Linked DNA regions of Homo sapiens: region 1 is linked to region 2. The links are contacts of gene promoters, found by promoter capture Hi-C in blood cells and fetal thymus (Javierre and others, 2016). All regions are on one chromosome and are shown on one strand. Each heading gives the region's core, a stretch centred on a gene start or on the middle of the fragment in contact. The rest is flanking DNA. Distances are from core to core; before and after follow the strand shown. Region 1 has its middle 9.9 kb from the start of ADGRF1. Region 2 holds the start of TNFRSF21 (TNF receptor superfamily member 21).

Region 1 (6,654 bases), core at 1,816-4,315, 260 kb after region 2:
TTTCATTTTATATTTTAATGATACGTGAAGGCATACAATCACACCTCACAAGCCTTGGGATATAACTGAGGAAACTTCTTCTGCATTTTTTCATACATTTAAAAATATTTTAATATTACTCCTGCCTAGTTGTTAGATTCATTCCTTGATAATGGGTTTAGTCATAATCCTGAAAGACACAACCCTGAACACTGTATTTCTGAAGGTTGAAATCCTGAAAAATCAAAATCCTTAAAATGTAATTCTGGAAAAAATAATTTAAAAGATATTTTATTTTCATTTTTAAAAGGTGGCTCATTTGAGAAACATTATAAAAACACAACAGAACACTTCAGAGCCCACTTTCCACAATAAAATAGACAATAAAACACACATGTTTTTCACCTAAAGCAATGGCAACAAAAGCCAAAATTGACAAATGGGATCTAATTAAACTAAAGACCTTCTGCACAACAAAAGAAACTATCATCAGAGTGAACAGGCAACTTACAGAATAGGTGAAAATTTTTGCAATCTATCTGTCTGACAAAGGACTAATATCCAGAATCTACAAAGAACTTAAACAAATTTACAAGAAAAAAACAACCCCATCAAAGAGTGGGCGAAGGATATGAACAGACACTTCTCAAAAGAAGACATGTATACAGCCAACAGATACATGAAAAAACGCTCATCATCACTGGTCATCAGAGAAATGCAAATCAAAATCACAATGAGATACCATCTTACGCCAGTTAGAATGGCGATCATTAAAAAGCCAGGAAACAACAGATGCTGGAGAGGATGTGAAGAAATAGGAACACTTTTACACTGTTGATAGGAATGTAAATTAGTTCAACCATTGTGGAAGACAGTGTGGCGATTCCTCAAGGATCTAGAACCAGAAATACCATTTGACCCAGCAATCCCATTACTGGGTATATACCTAAAGGATTATAAATCATTCTACAATAAAGACACATGCACATGTGTGTTTATTGCAGCACTGTTCACAATAGCAAAGACTTGGAACCAACCCAAATGCCCATCAATGATAGACTAGATTAAGAAAATGTGGCACATATACACCATGGAATACTATGCAGCCATAAAAAAGGATGAGTTCATGTCCTTTTCAGGGACATGGAAGAAGCTGGAAACCATCATTCTCAGCAAACTAACACAGGAACAGAAAACCAAATGCCGCATGTTCTCACTCATAAGTGGGATTTGAACAATGAGAACATATGGACACAGGGAGGGGGACATCACACACTGGGGCCTGTTGGGAGGTGTGCGGCTTGGGGAGGGATAGCATTAGGAGAAATACCTAATGTAGATGACGGGTTGCTGGGTGCAGCAAACCACCATGACACGTATATACCTATGTAACAAACCTGCACATTCTGCACATGTATCCCAGAACTTAAATTATAATAAAAAACTATGTTTTTGCAAGCCCACTTAGGTATACTAGGAACAATTGCATGGGTATAAGTTATGAGCAGACGAGTGTATTCATAAATAGATGAAAAAGTGAAATGTAGAAATCATGTATCACTATGGCTGGTAATTGTGTACGCTCAGCTTTATAACTGCAATAATCTGAAATGCTGTGATGGACAACCCACGTCTTTTGAGAAGAACAATAGAAACCTGTGATCACTCGCCACCGCATATGCAGTCACCCAAAGAGCCGAACCCTTGAGCAGTTTTCTCTTTTACAAAAGCAGATGCACTAAAAGGACATTTCTTCATTTATTAAGAAAGTTTCAATATTTTTACATATACACACGAGGCTTACACATGAAGTCAAATGTACTTTCATGGAGTCAAGTTTATAAAAAATGCATAGAATGAATTAGAACTCTCTAAAAGTCTTTACACAATTTATACCTCCAATATTGGAAATGAGGTAAAGATGAAATACATAGCATAGCAAATCGTGAAAAATAATGCTGTCAATTTAAAATAGTTGGGAATCAAAAATTTAAAAAGAAAAAAGAAGAAAAACAAACTCAAAAGAAAATTTACCATATGAAAAAGCAATTAGAGGGATAGACTATGCATAATTGCACATAGGCTGTTCATAAGAGCTGGCCAGCTTTCACTATCATTAGCTCTATTTTGAAGTCTTGCATCCAGATGATTCTCCTTGGAGAATATGTTCACTTTCATTTTCTATATGGTGCTTGCTCTTTTTGAAATCATTCTGTGATTCAATATACAACAACATAAGCATTCCCTATTGTTTTCCCATCTTCTGTACCACACTTCTAGGTTGCTTTGCGCATGCAAAGTCCATTCCGCGTGCACTTATATACAGACTACAAATTTGGTGGGAACTATACTGTTGATCGAACCCCAACACTGTTGTATAAGTGTCTTCCTATCCTACCAGGCACATAATTATTTTTAAACTAGTCAGTAACTTTGCTGGCTTCTTCAGAGAAATGCGACTTTAATTCATTAAAAGCTCCTGGAATTTCACCAGCTGAAAGGAATGCCAGTGCAGACAAATAATGCATTATTTTTTTGAGATGAGTCTCGCTCTGTCGCCCAGGCTGGAGTGCAGTTGTGCAATCTCAGCTCACTGCAACCTCTGCCTCCTGGGTTCAAGTGATTCTCCTGCCTCAGCCTCCCGAGTAGCTGGGATTACAGGCCCATGCCACCACACCTAGCTAATTTTTGTATTTTTAGTAGAGATGGGGTTTCACCATGTTGGTCAGGCTGGTCTCAAACTCCTGACCTCAGGTGATCACCCACCTCGGCCTCCCAGAGTGCTGGGATTACAGGCGTGAGCCCCCGCACCCAGCCGAAATAATGCATTTTTAAAAGGAAGCTTTCATCATTGCCTTATCACATGGCCCATCCAGTCATCTGAATTGCCCTCCAAATGCAAATAAAGACAAAAACAAGGTAATAATAGTTCTGCCTGACATAATGCAACTAACATGATGCAACAACCCTGCTTACAGCTGAAAACTCATTCATACCTTCCCCAGAATTCAGGTTTCAGGGTTTCAACATTTGGGATTTATTGTGATTTTCAAGATTTTAGACTAGAGATTTTGATCCTTCGGTACTTCAACCCAAATTATGATTGAAATTACAGATTATCATGTTCAAAATTGCATCTTTCAGAATTATGATCAGCACTGCTTAATTATTTTATTTTATTTGATCATGTAGAAAATCAAGCCATATTCTTCTTTAGAGGAACTCAAAAGACATTAATTATCCCCAAATTTACCTATACACTTAACATAATCTCAATAAATATATCAATAGGTTTTTGTGGTGTGTGGGGAGGGGGAAAGTCAAGCTTATTCTAAAGTTTATATGAATAAATTAATAAGCAGAAATAGAAAAATTCTGAAAAGGAAGAATAATGAGGAATAATTAGTATATTAGATATAAAGATATATGATGAAGTCACAATAAACAGAGTATTAAGTTGTTCTTGAGCAGACACAGACGAATGAAATGAATACAAAATCCATGAATTGACCCAAAGTCACATAGGAATTTAGTATTTAATAAAGGTAGCATCTCAAATCAATGAGGCAAAGATATGTTATTCAGTCCATGGTGTGAAACAAATGAGTAGGTCAATGCAAAACAATGTTACTAGCACAAGTTAATTGCTACAGATTGTTTTTTTTTTTTTTTATTATACTTTAAGTTTTAGGGTACATGTGGACATTGCGCAGGTTAGTTACATATGTATACATGTGCCATGCTGGTGTGCTGCACCCACTAACTCGTCATCTAGCATTAGGTATATCTCCCAATGCTACCCCTCCCCCCTCCCCCCACCCCACCACAGTCCCCAGAGTGTGATATTCCCCTTCCTGTGACCATGTGATCTCATTGTTCAATTCCCACCTATGAGTGAGAATATGCGGTGTTCGGTTTTTTATTCTTGCGATAGTTTACTGAGAATGATGGTTTCCAATTTCATCCATGTCCCTACAAAGGACATGAACTCATCATTTTTTATGGCTGCATAGTATTCCATGGTGTATATGTGCCACATTTTCTTAATCCAGTCTATCATTGTTGGACATTTGGGTTGGTTCCAAGTCTTTGCTATTGTGAATAATGCCGCAATAAACATACGTGTGCATGTGTCTTTATAGCAGCATGATTTATAGTCCTTTGGGTATATACCCAGTAATGGGATGGCTGGGTCAAATGGTATTTCTAGTTCTAGATCCCTGAGGAATCGCCACACTGACTTCCACAATGGTTGAACTAGTTTACAGTCCCACCAACAGTGTAAAAGTGTTCCTATTTCTCCACATCCTCTCCAGCACCTGTTGTTTCCTGACTTTTTAATGATTGCCATTCTAACTGGTGTGAGATGGTATCTCATAGTGGTTTTGATTTTCATTTCTCTGATGGCCAGTGATGATGAGCATTTTTTCATGTATTTTTTGGCTGCATAAATGTCTTCTTTTGAGAAGTGTCTGTTCATGTCCTTCGCCCACTTTTTGATGGGGTTGTTTGTTTTTTTCTTGTAAATTTGTTTGAGTTCATTGTAGATTCTGGATATTAGCCCTTTGTCAGATGAGTAGGTTGCGAAAATTTTCTCCCATGTTGTAGGTTGCCTGTTCACTCTGATGGTAGTTTCTTTTGCTGTGCAGAAGCTGGAGGCATCACACTATCTGACTTCAAACTATACTACAAGGCTACAGTAACCAAAACAGCATGGTACTGGTACCAAAACAGAGATATAGATCAATGGAACAGAACAGAGCCCTCAGAAATAACGCCACATACCTACAACTATCTGATCTTTGACAAACCTGAGAAAAACAAGCAATGGGGAAAGGATTCCCTATTTAATAAATGGTGCTGGGAAAACTGGCTAGCCATATGTAGAAAGCTGAAACTGGATCCCTTCCTTACACCTTATACAAAAATCAATTCAAGATGGATTAAAGATTTAAACGTTAGACCTAAAACCATGAAAACCCTAGAAGAAAACCTAGGCATTACCATTCAGGACATAGGCGTGGGCAAGGACTTCATGTCCAAAACACCAAAAGCAATGGCAACAAAAGCCAAAATTGACAAATGGGATCTAATTAAACTAAAGAGCTTCTGCACAGCAAAAGAAACTACAGATTGTTTAGACTGTGTATTTCAAGAAAAAGGTGGCTACTTTGCAAATGGAAGTAAAATTAAAAAACAAAAGTCCATAAATTCTGGGACTTATCAGAGAGAAGATGTAACTAATTCCTATCTCTAACTAATAAAATATAAAACTGAGGTGGTCTTGGTTTGGATATAAAACCAATTATATCCAAGCCTAATAACAAGAAGTGAGTCACGGATATGGCCGTCAAATCTTTTTCCTTCAACACTGGGAATGAGTAAGGTGGCTCTAAGTCTTTCAGGTGGATAAAATTACTCCGGAAAAGAAACCAAAGGTGTGGCTCTGCCACTGACGCCTGATAGACTCAAGGTACTGCTTGGAAAAGAATGTGAGGCGTATATGATGGCACGTGCAGCTGATTGGAATGAAACAAATGAGGTGACAATTATGTTTTAAGAGCATTGTACTGACAAGAGAACCACTAGCTGTAGTAAAAGGGATTGCAACTTTCTTGCTTGAAGCCTGAAACTCGTTCAGCATATTAACTGCCATTCACATTTATCACACGTTTCTCTTTTTAAAATTTTTATTTATTTATTTATTTTTGAGATGGAGTCTCACTCTGTTGCCCAGGCTGGAGTGCAGTGTTGCAATCTCGACTCATTGCAACCTCCGCCTCCCAGGTTCAGGCGATTCTCCTGCCTCAGCCTCCTGCGTAGCTGGCATTACAGGCATGCAGTACCATGCCTGGCGAATTTTTGTATTTGTAGTAAAGATGGGGTTTCGCCATGTTGGCAAGGCTGGCCTCAAACTCCAGACCTCAAGTGATCCGCCCACCGTGGCCTCCCAAAGTTTTAGGATTACAGGCGTGAGCCACCATGCCAAGCACAAAGGTTTCTTATATAGGTCATGCCCATATGGTTTCCAAGAACAATTTCTTTGCTGCTCATTGGCCAGACAAGAAGCAAATGTCATACATTGTCAGATTTCTCTTATGGCAGCTTTACCCCACTCTTAGTACCAATTTCTGTATGCTTAAGCTAGATTACAATATAGTAACAACCTCAAAATTTCAATTTCTCAAAACAAAAAAGGTTCATGTCTTGCATATATAATATATTTTAAACAAATACAATTCACCGCACCTACTGATGGACTTTTAGATTACTTTCAATCAGCATATTAGAAATAATTCTGCATTGTATACATATCATTTTGCACATATGAAAGTATGTGTGTAGGTTGTATTTCTAGAAATAGAATTGCTAAGTCAAGTGATATGTAAATGTAAACATTTGGTACAGATTTACTGACTTATATTCCCGCTAGTTATATATGACACTGCCTATTTCCTCCTACCTGCAACAATGTTGTCATTAACGCTTTTGATCTTTTACCTGAGAGGTAAAAATAATATCCCATCATTGCTTTAGTCTTCATTTTTCAAGTTATCCTAGATGTTTCCTTGCTTTTCATAGACTTTAGAACTATTTGTATGCTTTTTTGGTGGATTTATTTATATCCTTTTGTCTATTTATCTGGTTGATTGTCTTTTTTCATTGATTCCAAAG
Region 2 (7,000 bases), core at 4,178-6,677:
CAGCTCAGGCCATTCCTTCACCCCCGTACAATGTCTGTCGCCTGCCACAGCCAGTAGTGCCATGGTAGATTTATGCTGCACAAAAGCTGTGAGCCTTCTGCCTGGGGAACCCCCGCAAAAGGTCCCAACAGGAGTCTGTGGACCCTTGCCAGCAGGGACGATAGGATTACTTTTAGGAAGGTCTAGTGTAGGTTTAAAAGGGGTACAAATACATACAGGAGTCATTGATTCAGATTACAATGGGGAAATTCAAATTGTTATATCTACTTCTGTTTCCTGGAAAGCAGAGCCAGGAGAGCGCATAGTGCAGCTCCTGATTGTGCCATATGTGGGAATGGGAAAAAGTGAAATTAAATGAACAGGAGGATTTGGAAGCACAAATAAACAAGGCAAAGCAGCTTATTGGGTAAATCAAATTACTGATAGACGTCCTACCTGTGAAATAACTATTCAGGGAAAGAAATTTAAAGGCTTGGTAGATACAGGAGCAGACATGTCAATCATTTCTCTACAGCACTGGCCGTCCACGTGGCCAATTCAACCCACTCAATTTAACATGGTTGGGGTTGGTAAAGCCCCTGAAGTATATCAAAGTAGTTATATTTTGCATTGTGAAGGGCCCGATGGACAACCTGGGACTATTCAACCAATTATAACTTTCTGTACCTATAAATTTATGGGGAAGAGATTTATTACAACAATGGGGAGCACAAATTCTAATTCCAGAACAATTATATAGCCCTCAAAGTCAACATATGATTCATGAAATGGGGTATGTACCCGGAACAGGACTAGAAAAAAAAATTTGCAAGGTTTAAAAAGTTCCCGCCAAAGATTAGGATATCATTTTTGATGGCAGCCATTGTTAAGCCTCCAGAACCTATACCTTTAGAATGGTTAACAGATAAGCCAATTTGGATAGAACAATGGCCGCTAAGTAAAGAGAAACTGGAGGCTTTGGAGAAATTAGTTACTGAACAATTAGAAAATGGGCACATAGCTCCAGCATTTTCTCCTTGGAATTCTCCAGTTTTCGTAATTAAGAAAAAATCAGGTAAATGGAGAATGTTAACTGACTTCAGAGCTATCAATTCAGTTATATAACCTATGGGAGCATTACAGCCAGGATTGCCTTCTCCTGCTATAATTCCAAAAAATTGGGCTTTAATAGTCATAGATTTAAAAGATTGTTTCTTTACTATCCCTTTAGCTGAGCAAGACTGTGAACAGTTTGCATTTACAATTCCTGCAGTAAACAACATGCAGCCTGTTTTCATTGTTTTACAGATGGGTCTAGTAATGGTAAATCTTCTTATTCTGGATCAAAAGGTAAAGTTTTTCAGATGCCCTATACTTCAGTTCAAAAAGCAGAGCTTGTAGCTATAATTGAGGTATTGACTGCTTTTGATATGCCTATTAATGTGATTTCTGATTCTGTTCCTATAATTGGGGCAGAATCAGGTTTACAAAAAAATTGGGGCAGAATCAGGTTTACAAAAAAAATTGGGGCAGAATAGGTTTACAAAAACCTATTTGTAAACAGGATTGGACCCAGTTAGAAAAAATGAACGTACTTGTTTAGGAAGATTGCATTGCAGAACAGGCAGAGGTGCTGCACAACGATTCCTATGGAATCATTATTAATTCGTCCCCTAAGGGGACGTTTAGCTTGAATTGCACCTCTCAGTCTGCATGCCACGGCCACACTATGTTCAGATGATCTGAACAAAACGGTCAGATGGTAGAAATGATAAGAACTACGGCAAAAGTTCCCATTACCTGGAACCATGGTGGTATAGCAGCACCTCAGCCTCAAATGATATAGCCCGCTCTAGGAGCTTAACATAAGGAATTAAAATTAAAAGAACAAATGTTTAAAGCATCGCAGGCACACCTGACCTTAATGCCAGGAACTGGAGTGCTTGAAGGAGTTACAGACAAATTAGCAGCTAGTAACCCATTACAATGGATAAAAACACTTGGAAGCTCTGTGATTTCAATGACGTTTGTGCTTTTAATCTGTGTTGTTTGTCTTTGTATAGTCTGCAGATGTGGAACCTGACTCCTGCGAGAAGTAGCTCACCATGACAAAGCTGCCTTTGCTTTTATCGATTTGCAAATCAGAGAAGGGGGACATGTTGGGAGCAGGCCCCCCAAAATCTGGCCATATACTGGCCTCAGAACTGGCCATAAACAAAATCTCTTTTGCACTGTAACATGTTCATAATGGCCCTAACGCCCAAGCTGGAAGGTTGCAGGTTTACAGGAATGAGGGCAAGGAACACCTGGCCCACCCAGGGCGGAAAACCACTTAAAGGCATTCTTAAGCCACCAACAATAGCTTGAGCGGTCTGTGCCTTAAGGACATGCTCCTGCTGCAGTTAACTAGCCCATCCTATTCCTTTAATTCAGCCCACCCTTCGTTTCCCATAAGGGATGCTTTTAGTTAATCGAATATCTATAGAAACAATGCTAATGACTGGTTTGCTGTTAATAAATATGTGGGTAAATCCCTGTTCGGGGCTCTCAGCTCTGAAAGCTGTGAGACCCCTGATTTCCCACTTCACACCTCTATATTTCTGTGTGTGTGTCTTTAATTCCTCTAGCGCCACTGGGTTAGGGTCTCCCCAACGGAGCTGGCATTTTCCTGCCAACTTTCTGTCATTCCCTCATAGATCGGCTCAGGATGTTTGTCATGCAGCAGTCATTTCTCAAAATGTGGACAATTGTTATTTTCATTATAAAGAACATGAAATTTTACTAGACCTTCTGAAAGTGTGCAGGATAAGTTAAAAAAATAATTAAGACAAGATGGTAAATCTGGTGATTTCTTTTTTTTTTTTTTTTTTTTTTTTTGAGACGGAGTCTCGCTCTGTCGCCCAGGTCGGACTGCGGACTGCAGTGGCGCAATCTCTGGTGATTTCTTCAGTATCCAGATGTATATATCAGATTTTTAACAAGAAAGATAAAATAGAAAAAAATGAAAGGTTAGGAAAGCATTAATTGGAATGTACTAAGGACGAGGAAAGAATTAGCAATGATTTTTGAGGTTGGAAAACTAGAAAAATTGTACAACATTGGCAGAAAGAGAGAAAGTCCAAAGGTAGGATGGAGGGTGGAGATAGAGTAATTTTTATGGCAAAGATGACATTGGATTAACTCATTTAGGCCTTCCTTTAAAATTTAGCTATAATTATGATTTATCAACACATATCTCCTCTTTCCTTGGAACTTTGGGAGAAACTTCCTTATGTATCATTGAATTTTTATCCTTTCCCAGAAAACAGACATGTCTAAGTTACCACATTGAAAATGTGGCAATGAATTATTTAATGGTTGCAGCATTGTTACTTCAAAATGGAAGGCATGTATACATTTCAATTCAAAGTAATAAAATTTCACACTGCATCTAGATTCAAATTATCTATAATCTATCACTCTATAGAGGGACATGTATTTAAATGTTAGTAGTAAACAGAATTGAGTAAATTTTTTCATCTCTCAAAATGTATATTAAATTTCAACTTGATATGATCAATGGAACACCAGGAATTCATGAAGTTTCAAAGTGGTCCAAGCACAAATAAACAATTTTCTTTTAGTTTTAGGAAGACAAATAGTTGAGAAGAACTTCTTATACCTGCATAGTAACCCAGACACTAAACTCTAAAGTTGCCCAACTCTTTAGAGCAAATCAATCATATATTACCACGAAAAATGTGAGTTTGGATGCAAGGAGTAAAATGGACTAAATAAAAACGTATTTGAAGCTCCTCCTCCTCTTTAATACCTATGTAACTTCTTAAAAAAAAACAACCCAACCTTATAATAGTATTGGCCAGTCATTTGAATTTTTGAAGAAAAAATTGATACAGTTATGCATGAAAACACAGCATCTATCCCTCACTCTTTCAACTTCTGAAAATAGCTAGAGAGTGGCAAGTCCAACCATCATCCTTTCCCCAAAACTCCATAATTAATGGTAATATTTTCTAGAACTCCTTTGAATTTCACTAGAGGTTATATATTGTAGCTTTTTTCCCACTCTAACATTTATAGACAATACTGACAAATGTTTGAAATAATAGATTGGAATTAACCCTCATATTAATTTTAGCTTCTACCAAAGTGTGCATAGAGCAAAGAATCAAAGGACAACATGTTAACTAATAAAGCAAATAATTGGTACCTATGACTTAGCAAGTTACCTTTATTAGCACTGGGTGTTGGATCTTGAAACTGATAGTTTAAAAAGTGTGATTCTTTTGAAATGGGACCAAAGGAGCCTAGGATAAGCCCAGCACCATAGGGCTCCCAATTGAGGGGTGTGGACTGGATGGCTGAAGAGGTAATATCAATACAGTGTGCCATGTGCTGTCAGTACCTAGATGATGGATAACACGATACCAGAAATGGTGGCCACAGTCAGGAGACTCGGCCTTCCCCCAGGTGAAACAAAGAAAAGGATAACAGCTGCTCTCTTACATTCAGAAGTGTGTGAGATACCAACATCCACGAGAATATTCCAGTTCTCCTTCTGAAGCAGAATACTACCTATTCTACCACCCACATCCTGACAAGGCCTTTGGAAATCAACTCAAAAATTTTTAGCATTATTTTTTGGGGGAAGGGTGATTAAAAAAAATCTCAGGGATAATCCGATTCAAAACTCTTGATTTTTAAATTAGGAAAATGCATCTTTTGATACATTTCAAGGAGTTCAAAAGTCCCTCCAAGACCATCCATGGACCCAACACCAATGACTCTGGGTTTTAAATCCTTTTAGTTTGGATTTCCTTAATTGCATTCATAAGCCCATATTAAAATTAAAATATAAAAAATTAAAATCTTTGCCCCATATTAAAATCACCCTGAAAACTTAAAAAACAAACAAACAACAACAACAACAAACCTCAATGCCCAGACCAGATCCTGTCCTGTTCCAATTAAATCAGAGTCTCTAGAGGTGGGACCCAAGAATCAATATATATGTTTTGAACTCTCCAGGTGATTCCACAGGGCAGCAAAGTTTGAGAAGCAACACACAGGTCTCCTTTTTCGTCACGCAGTTGATCTAAGTGCTCTGTGGTCTATTCACCATCGCTCTCTGATTTAATCATCGTGTCCGAAACAATGGAAAGGCGTATGTAGCTGAAATAATTTAGTTGGAATTATCTCGGAAAAAATAAGTAAAGTTAGATCAGGAGTGAGATGCTTTCTCAGCGCTTTCCCTGGGTCAACAGGCGCGTGCAATTTCCTCAGCGAACGCCAAGGGGCACCCTCTCCCTCCCCGCTCTACCTGGAACGCCTTCGCCTTTCCAACCGCACAAAGAGCCCGGCCTCCTCCCGGGTGACATCACAAAGGGCCGGTCCCCCGCCCCTTCGGCGCCACCACGTGTGTCCCTGCGCCCGGTGGCCACCGACTCAGTCCCTCGCCGACCAGTCTGGGCAGCGGAGGAGGGTGGTTGGCAGTGGCTGGAAGCTTCGCTATGGGAAGTCGTTCCTTTGCTCTCTCGCGCCCAGTCCTCCTCCCTGGTTCTCCTCAGCCGCTGTCGGAGGAGAGCACCCGGAGACGCGGGCTGCAGTCGCGGCGGCTTCTCCCCGCCTGGGCGGCCGCGCCGCTGGGCAGGTGCTGAGCGCCCCTAGAGCCTCCCTTGCCGCCTCCCTCCTCTGCCCGGCCGCAGCAGTGCACATGGGGTGTTGGAGGTAGATGGGCTCCCGGCCCGGGAGGCGGCGGTGGATGCGGCGCTGGGCAGAAGCAGCCGCCGATTCCAGCTGCCCCGCGCGCCCCGGGCGCCCCTGCGAGTCCCCGGTTCAGCCATGGGGACCTCTCCGAGCAGCAGCACCGCCCTCGCCTCCTGCAGCCGCATCGCCCGCCGAGCCACAGCCACGATGATCGCGGGCTCCCTTCTCCTGGTGAGCGCTTGCGTGGACCGGGGGTGGCGGCGGCGCCGGAGCAGAAGGAACCGCTCTCCGGGAGCCGGGCGGGTCACCGGGCCGGGGCTTAGGGAGGCGCGGGGCCCGGCCGACTGGGTTACGGGCACTGAGGGGTTTCCAAGGGAAGGCAACACACCAGAGGGCCTCGACTAGGTTATTTGGGGGAATCTCAGGGCTCAGCCGGGGCTGGGGAATGAAGACGAATTGTTTTCCTTGCAGTCTGGCTTTGCTGGAGGAGACGCTAGAGGTAGCCGCCCAGCTTCTGCGCATTTGAGGGCTTTTCCCCCTACTCGGCCTACCTCGCGCTCCCCACGCCCGCAGCCACAGCCCCCCACCCATCGGCCACTGCCCCTCTGCGTGGTGTGGGGCCTCGCCGCGGTGTGGGGCTCCCACGGCCGGCCGAGGCCGGCGCTTTGTTGCAGCTGCAATGTCATGTCGGGATGCTACCGCAGTGGAAGACAGTGGTACCGGTGCGCGCCGGACACCGGAGACCTCCGGGTGCTGTCGCGCGGTGCATTCCCGAGCAGGGCGCAAGCCGCCCCCTCCTCAATCCCTTTACCCTCTCTCTTCCCTCTTGGCTCGGGTGGGGTCTCAGGTTCTGTATGCCGAAATATCACCCTTAGACCCACTCTCCGGCGCCTCCAAAGCGCCGGCTTCCAGCCAGCCAGCGCGCCGGCACTGGAATGGGGGGAGGGGGAAGGAGATGTGTGTGAAGGAAGATGAATTTTCTACAGTCTTTCCGATCCCTCGTTTACCTGTGGCTAGGCAGGTGACCCTGCAGGGTGGTGCAGTCTCCCTCATCGTCTAAGCTGCATCCACATCTCGGGTCAATCATCTTGACCAAAAACTTACCCTCAACTTCCCCCAAATTCCCTCCCTTTATTTCCAAATATTGGGGTGAAGGGGCAAGTTAGGTGGAAGAAAATTTGAGATCAAACCCTTGAGCTTCCCTTGCCTATCTTTTATCACTGCAGGAGGGATGGAAATTCTTAGCTAAAAACCGAACAAAAAAACCCCCAAGAAACAAGAGCTTGTTTTCACGACAGGGCTGTGTAAGGGAAAA

The links. Contacts are between HindIII fragments. The CHiCAGO score rates a contact against its expected background, and 5 or more counts as called.
Region 1: a contact is called between a fragment that was not itself captured here and the fragment with the promoter of TNFRSF21 in region 2, in 6 of 17 cell types (M0 macrophages, M2 macrophages, M1 macrophages and 3 more). The highest score is 10.9, in M0 macrophages.

Annotation. Positions count from the first base shown.
Region 1 is chr6:47,048,942-47,055,595 of GRCh38, reverse strand. No RefSeq gene overlaps it. Among named protein-coding and RNA genes, the nearest start is that of ADGRF1, 9.9 kb to the right of the region's middle. The HindIII fragment of the contact is 483 bases long and covers 2,824-3,306 here.
Region 2 is chr6:47,308,332-47,315,331 of GRCh38, reverse strand. TNFRSF21 (TNF receptor superfamily member 21) reads left to right here and starts at 5,427. Exons shown (of 6, transcript NM_014452.5): 1 at 5,427-5,916. The coding sequence starts at 5,821. RefSeq lists enhancers at 5,165-5,459, 5,411-5,590, 5,754-6,476 and a silencer at 5,731-5,960. The HindIII fragment of the contact is 9,028 bases long and covers 1-5,484 here.